Linked DNA regions of Homo sapiens: region 2 is linked to region 1. Evidence: promoter capture Hi-C in human tissues and cell types (Jung and others, 2019). All regions are on one chromosome and are shown on one strand. Each heading gives the region's core, a stretch centred on a gene start or on the middle of the fragment in contact. The rest is flanking DNA. Distances are from core to core; before and after follow the strand shown.

Region 1 (4,262 bases), core at 238-2,737:
TGAATGAGAAAAGACACTGTATCTGCAATTTATATACATCTAATATATAATTTTAATGTGTAAGTGAGAAATGCTTGGCCAGGCCTGGTGGCTCACACTTGTAATCCCAGCACTTTGGGAGGCCAAGGTGGGTGGATCATCTGAGGTCGGGAGTTCGAGACCAGCCTGACCACCATGGAGAAACCCCATCTCTACTAAAAATACAAAATTAGCCAGGATAGTGGTACATGCCTGTAGTCCCAGCTACTTGGGAGGCTGAGGCAGGAGAATTGATTGAACCCAGGAGGCGGAGGTTGCAGTGAGCCGAGATCGTGCCACTGCACTCCAGCCTGGGCAACAAGAGTGAAACTCCATCTCAAAAAAAAAAAAAAAAAAAAAGAAAAAGAAAAAGAAAAAAAAAGAAATGCTCACACAAGGTTGGGTCTGGTGGCTCATGCCTATAATCCCAGCAATTTGGGAGGCCGAGGCAGGGGGATCATTTGAAGGAAGGAGTTCAAGACCAACCTAAGCAACAAAGTGAAACCACATCACTATAAATATATTTTTAAATGAAATGTTCACTCAGGCTTTTTACTATTTTATTTGCTTTTGCTGTAAAATAGAGATAATGCCACTTATTCTGTATGCTAGAAGTCATTACTGAATTAGACATAAAACACAAACAGCTCTTAGAAAACAATCTATAAAAATAAAATCACACTATAATAAATTTAAAAATAAAAAACCTATAAATAAAATATTTCTACAATTTTTCACTTAGTAAATAAGCAGCATAGTGAAGTGGTTCAAGAAGAGGGTATGGGATCATGAGTGCTTGGGTTCAGATTAGTTACAGTGTTATGATTTTAGACAACTAATAAAGTCTTTCTGTGCTCAGTTTCTATAAAACCATGAGGAAATATTATGAGTTTTCAGTTGTGCGATTCATGTAAAGCCATCAGTACTGAGCCTAGAACATGAGTACAACACATGGAGCCCCCTCCTGGCTGTGTGCTGGGCATTAAGTGCCAGGGGTTAGGTGTTCATGAGTGTGTTAAACATGTCCTTTCCTTATGTACTGCACCTCTCAAAGAATAGGCAGCTCCATTGAGAGTGTGTCTATTATTTTAGGAAATTGTAGCTGAAAATTAACATGATGCCTCCTCATTCTAGGTTTCTCAAATTGACTCAATCCATGAGACATGTATCATTGTATTCAAAACCTAATGGGCATTTTGTTAGACAACAAATGGTCTCTAAGATTTCCAACAACAACAAAAAAAATTTGAAGCTTCTGGTTGAGAAATCTTTAAACCCTCCCACTGGCACACTCCACTAATTCCATTTATGGTAGTGGAGTCAGTGATTTGAACGAAGTACTTTCAGTTTCATATTACTCTAAATCCATTACAAATCTGCTTAGCTTCTAAATATTTCATCAATGAGGAAATCCCAGCCCTACAACTTCGGAACAGTGAAATATTAGTCCAGGGATCCAGTGAGAGACACAGAAGTGCTAGAAGCCAGTGCTCGTGAACTAAGGAGAAAAAGAACAGGTAAGAACTTTTACTACTTCTCATCAAGCAGCTTTCTCTCTAGCTCCAAAGGATCTCAGCTCAGTGATATGGAACCTATAAGGTTGTGGCAGGGATGGGAAGGAATTTATAAAGGTCAGTTCATTTTCTTAAACATCATCAGAACCAAATTAGGCTGCAGATGAGCCTGAAGTGGGACGCAGGTCAGATGAAATCCTGGTGTTATCAGGGACAGCATGGCCTTAAGTGCCACTACAGTGCTTGTGTTGAATTAGGCACCAGTAGACAGGGGCTAAACTGAGCATTTGAAATGTACTAGGATAGTCTTTCTCTTTGTTGACATTATCTATGTTGACTAGGGATATGATTACATTTCCATCGTCAGTGATGGACTGAATCCTGCTTCTATGCAGCTAAGAAATGGAAGAGTTACAAACGGGTTCTTTTCATGGAAGGAAAGAACAGCAAATGAGAAGCAGAGTAAGCAGCCCACTGACACGGTTAAAGACAAAGAAAAAACTGAAACTCAGCCTGAAAGATGAAGATTCATGAAAACAGTATACTTTTTATTACACTTGTGAACTTTGTTTCAGAATGGATTACTTTCTTTAGAAATAGTCCAGACTCACTAATTTCCTAGTGCCCACTGATCCCTGTCCCTTAGAAGTGAAATTCAACCCCACTGCTTCACTGAAGTGCTTCCAATTTTGTCTTCTTTTAGTAGAGAGCAGGGCCAAAAGTGTTTCCTCTTTAATTCTCCTGTAATGCATCTCTACAGAAAATATCTTTGCTTACTTTAACCTCTCCATGCACTCAGACTACTTTGATCCTGCCTTCTGCAAAGTCTTCCCCTGAATGCCTTGTCAAGACACTAGCCTCATTCATCACCTCTGGTCTGACAGCTCCTCTCTCTCTCTCTCTCTCTCTCTCTCTCTCTCTCACACACACACACACACACACACACACACACACACACACACATTCCCAGCCCCTTATCCTCCTCTCCACTCCTACTATTCCTCCTCTTTCTATTTCTCTTTCTCCTACCCTACCAAATGGAAAACAGAACAAAACAGAAATCCTAAAGCTGTATCGCTGGAAATATATTTTATTTGAACAACTTCCTAGGTAGCTCTCTTTATCTGCCTCTTGATCTTTTAATCCTTATTATCTGGAGGAAACATTCAGTATTTGCAATTTTGCATTCATACCCTCAGTGACTTAGAAGCTATCTTATCGTGACTCTAATGAAGCTTAAGTTTCAGGGCCCTTCTCTTGGACATGACCCTTAGGAGCCCTTGGAAGGTTCCCTAGCCATGTGTTTCACATGGTTGTATAGTTTTATAAAATTTGCAAAAGTATGTTACATTGTTACCACTTCCAGAATGGCAATGTGAGAAGCTTTGTCAATCCTCATTGCAGTGAAATAAGCATAATCATTTGAAGATGGAGGAAGGAACACATTTAAAAATCTTTGGAAATTTTTCTAAGGGTAAACATCAAACTATGAATACTGATTCACTGTGTTGGATGTTTATTCACTGTGAGAATTAATAAGTGAATCAATATTGAATTCCTTACATACAGCCAGGATGCAAATAAATCCTCTAAATCCTATTCTATCTTCCATTAATTGACTAGTGAAAATATCTAATAAGAATCCAAAAAGAAAGTTTTCCACAATAAACTAAATGAAATATTTGGGTCGTGAGAGTAGTTGAGTGTTGATAAGTCACTGTCATGCTAACATTTTTCATAATGAGCTACTTTGACAATACTTCCATAACTTTCTCAAATGATACAGATTTTGCCTCATCTCTTTTGCTGTCACACACAAAACTTTTGGCCATACTGGGGAATCTTATGATTCTCCCTTATAATTGCAAAACACTAGAAATTCTCATGTATTTCACCTCTTCTCTTGCAGACAAGGGAACAGCCTGGACATGGCATCAGAGATCCACATGACAGGCCCAATGTGCCTCATTGAGAACACTAATGGGCGACTGATGGCGAATCCAGAAGCTCTGAAGATCCTTTCTGCCATTACACAGCCTATGGTGGTGGTGGCAATTGTGGGCCTCTACCGCACAGGCAAATCCTACCTGATGAACAAGCTGGCTGGAAAGAAAAAGGGTGAGTGGCATGAGCAAAGCTCTGCCAAGTCCCTTCTGTCCATCTACACAGTCAGCCTCCATTATGAAGATGTGAGGAGAGAAAGAGATGAGGATGAATACTGAAAGCTAACTTTCCATTCACAGTCGGGCTCCTTATCTTCACGCTGTTCTAGGGGATAAGAATCAATTCATTAATTATTCCCATGATACCTTAGTTTCCATTTCAAAAGCACAAATTATGCCTCTCCTAAAAGGAGTAAGACAGTAATAAAAATAATTAATGTACATAATAATAACTATAATAAACTATACAATGTTTATTACAATTTTTATGCAATAACAGAGTTCACAGTGATCTTTAAGGTTGAAAAAATGTTTCAATCTGTAGTGGATATTATTTTTTGTTGTTGTAAAAAAAATAAAATTTAACCTCGTAACCATTTTTAAGTGTACAGCTCTGTAGCATTAATGAAATTCACATTGTTATACAGCTGTCACCTCCATCCATATCCAGAAATCTTTCATCTTGCCTAACAGAAACTGTATTAACTAAACAAAAGCTCCACATAAACCCATTGCCTGCCATCATTCTACATTCTATCTCTATGAATTTGACTACTACAGAAACCTT
Region 2 (4,084 bases), core at 580-3,079, 390 kb before region 1:
TCCATATCTTGACTATTGTGAATGATTATTGTGAATAATGAACTTGGGAGTGCAGCTATCTCTCCAGGGTCCTGGTTTTTCTTCTTCTGAATGTATACCTAGAGGTGATATTGCTGGATCGTGTGGTAGTAATATTTTTAATTTTTTGAGGAACCTTCATAGTGTTTTGCATAGTAGCCACACCCTTGTACATTCTAATCAACAGTGTACAAGGGTTCCAATTTCTACAATCATTATCAACACCATTATTTTTTAAAGTTTCTTTTTTTTTTTTTGATGGGGTCTTACTCTGTCACCCAGGCTGGAGTGCAGTGGCATGATCTGGGCTCACCACAGCCTTGATCTCCCCAGACTCAGGTGATCCTCCAACCTCATCCTCCTGAGCAGGTGGGACTATAGGTGCAAACCACCACACCCAGTTAATTTTTGTATTTTTAGTAGAGATAGGGTTTTGCCATGTTATGCAGGCTGGTCTTGAACTCCTGGGCTCAAGAGATCTGTCCACCTCGGCCTCTCCAGGAGCTAGGATTACAGGCATGAGCCACTGTGCCTGGCCTTTTTTTTTTAAATAGTAGCCATCCTAACAGGTGTGCAGTGATGTGTCACTGTGGTTTTGATTTGCATTTCTCTGATTATTAGTGATATTGAGTGCCTTTTCAATATATTTTCCAAATATTTTATTTCTGGGTTCTCTATTCTGTTTTATTGGGCTCTCTATTCTGTTTCATTGGTCTATATGTCTGTCTTTATGCCAGTTCCATACTGTCTTAATTACTGTAAATTTGTATTACATTTTCAAATCAGGAAGTGTGATGCCTCCAGCTTTGTTCTTCGTTCTCAGGTCACTTTGACTATTCTGGGTGTTTTGTGCTAAGCTCTTGGCTTGACTTCATGGACCATCCAAGATATGCAACCCCATAATTAACACATTTTCTAGTTTCCCTATTTAAAGCTTTAGACATCTTGGGGCTTTGCTGATCCTGGAGAGACTGATCCTCCCAGGGCTAGGCAGTTTTTAGAGATACTAAGGGATTCTCCTGCAAGTGTGCCTTTCATATGCAAACTAACCAACCTGAAGCCCACACGCCACCACTTTCTCTGTTGGCTCTCACACTCTGGGTCACTACCCATCTGCCCTACTCACCCAAAGGCCAAATACCAGAAAGTAAGAACAATTCCTCTGCTTCAGAGCCCACTGAAATTATTCCAGCTAGCCAATCCTAAACCTGCTTGCCCTGCTAGTTCTAGTTCACAGTTGCTCTGAATAGCATCCTTGACTGTAACTGGAACCACCTGGAGGTGGAGCGAGGCTTTAAAACACTCACACTCAGCCTCAACTCTAGACTTACTAAATCAGTCTCTGGTGATGGGTCAGAGCTCGAGTGTAAGGATTTTTAAGGAGAACCCCAGTTGATGATTAAGTGCAGCAAGTATTAAGAATTACTTATTTAGTCTTTTGACTTCTAAAGGAGGCCTCCTACTAGACTCTTTACTTTAGACAAGCTCTGGTCTTTGACCTCTGTCTGCTTACTTCATAAATGCCTTCAAAACTGAAGGTTGCCACCATGGCACATGTATACCTATGTAACAAACCTGCACATTCTGCACATGTATCTCAGAACTTAAAGTATAATAAAAATAAATAAAATAAAAAGCAAAACAAACAAAAATCCCTGAAAGTTCATTCCCTTTGTTGGCAAATGCTATTAGGAAAAAAACAGCTTCAATAACTCCACTTAACTCTTTGGTCTCCCACCTTCCCTTGGAATTTGGTCTTTAAGATCATTCATGACAAATTAGTCCATTTTTAATACTGCTTTTAAAAATATTAAACATTTTTAAATCCAAAATTTTACCTTTTTTTCAGCACAAATCTTTGTCTGCATAGATTATTCAGATTAGTCTACCACACTCCCCAAATCCTCAGCCTAAGTTATTGCCAAAACTCGTATCTGCTCATTCTGCCACTTGCTTCTATTCTCAAATCCATTTAGCAGTGCGGCCATAGCAGACAGTTCCAGCAGCTGCTATGTCCTCTGTTGAGAGTCTTTCTCCTTTACTTACTCAGGTTTTTGTTCAGGCTATGTAAGGCTGCCTCTTTTGCCCAAGCACAGCTTATAAATTCAGAGGAGCTAAAGTCCCTGAGGGGAACTCTCAACCAATGGAAACTGGGTTGTTAAATAAATACTCCACATTGTCCCTCAAAGAGACAATTATGAAATGCACTCTATATAATTCTTCAGAATATCCACTTTGGGATTGATCTCCAGTTGCTCACAATAGTAACCAACTCATTAATTCGCCTTTTTAGCTTTGTCCGTGTGTTACTCTCCCTTTCCCTGGCTTCCTGTCACCATTTCCCAAATAAACTATACACATCCAAGTCTTTCCTTGTTGGAGAGAGAAACCAAATAAAAACACATTATCCCCATGGGAACCTAAGACCTTACCATTTCTTTCATCATTTCAATTAACCTTTAAAAAACCTCCATCATAGTCATGTTTACATTAGAAAATGCATACAGTGTTATCAATGTATGAATTTGATTTATTTATGTAGCTGGATTTCAACTTTATTATAACAAATTTTATTGTGAATTTTATATTTCAAATATATGTTTATTATTTATTTTATAATTAATATATTACCAAAATTCATTTTATAATAAATATTTATATTAATACCATTATAACACATTTAATCAATATTTAATAAATAATACATATATAAAGTTTATATTTACAATAAATATTAATATAGTAAACTTTATATATAAAATTTATTTCAAATATTTGAAAAATAAATTTGATTTCACCATAATTTATAATTTATTATGAATTTCTATAAACTCTATATTGCCATCAATAAATTTCCATAAATTCTATACTGATATCTATATATTCTATATTGATATCACTTTCCACAGGAAAATTCATTCGTATATTACCAAATAAATTACCAAACATAGCCACATGATGGCAGTGCCTGCAAGCGCTTATCTCTTCAGTGTAGGCATGATACATCCATGATAACACTGCTGTTCCTTAATCTGTGTTTGAGGTGAACAGGCCGTATCTAGCAAATGCAAGCAGAAATATCTCTGCAAAATCTGTATTTATAACTTCATTGTCCACCCCGCTAGGACTAGCCGGAGTCATCATGACATACATCCAAATGTTAGGCTTTCTTGCTCACTCACAGGGGCCTGCAGACCTGGGCAGGTGTCCCCCTAGCCAGACCAGGTTCTTCCTCTTTACTACTGATTTTGTTCCATCACCACGTATTACTCTGTGGCTTATGTAGGAGCTGTGGGCAGCACTATGCTGTTGGGAGTTAGACAATTAATTGAGCAGACATGTCAATTCATTGCTCAGGAATCCAGGCAGAAATTCACTTGACTGATAGTCAGATAGACAGAGTAAACACATTTTTTGTTGGTATCTCTGCTCCGATGAGAATTTTTATATGTTGTTTGATCCAAATCACCTTAGAAGTAGACACTTAGACTGAGAGCCTGGAACTGATCCACTAACTTGTAAGATACCTGGGCTGGTAATAATCCCTTGCATATTGTTCCATTAACTTTACCTAATCCAGGGGTCAGCAAACAAGAGATGGGCCAAATTTATCCCACTGCCTACTTTTGTAAATAAAGTTTTATTGGAACACAGCCACACTCATTTGTTACATATTGTCTATGGTTGCTCTGGAAGAATAGATTTGACAGAGACTTATGGTATGCAAATCCTAAAATATTACTATTTGGCTTTTAAATTTTTTCAGAGATGGAGTTGCCTACATCTGGAGTGTAGTGGATGGCCTCAAGCGATCTTCCTGCCTCAGCCTCTAGAGTAGCTATTACTCCTGGTGCATGATAACATGCTTGGCTTATTTAGCCTTTCATGAAAAAAGTGCAAGAGTTTGAGCAAAATGTTAAGGATGAGCCTCTCTAGATATGCAATTAAGGATTAGTCATTTTTATCTTTACTTGTCTTTATTTTTTAATTATTTTGTTGTAAAATGATTACCTGCTGAACTAGACATATATATGAGTATATACATTCATATTTATATATTGGTATG

The links. The method cuts DNA at HindIII sites, captures the fragments that hold promoters and counts their contacts. A contact is called where the count stands out against the background at its distance.
Region 2: a contact is called between a fragment that was not itself captured here and the fragment with the promoter of GBP1 in region 1, in 2 of the 25 tissues and cell types used here (H1 embryonic stem cells and stomach).

The regions. Positions count from the first base shown.
Region 1 is chr1:89,062,433-89,066,694 of GRCh38, reverse strand. GBP1 (guanylate binding protein 1) reads left to right here and starts at 1,487. Exons shown (of 11, transcript NM_002053.3): 1 at 1,487-1,535; 2 at 3,442-3,650. The coding sequence starts at 3,461. The region is part of intron 2 of LOC105378841 (a long non-coding RNA gene); the gene reads right to left. RefSeq lists an enhancer at 1,191-1,290. The HindIII fragment of the contact is 6,241 bases long and covers 1-4,262 here.
Region 2 is chr1:89,454,251-89,458,334 of GRCh38, reverse strand. No RefSeq gene overlaps it. Among named protein-coding and RNA genes, the nearest start is that of LRRC8B, 69 kb to the left of the region's middle. The HindIII fragment of the contact is 4,815 bases long and covers 1-4,084 here.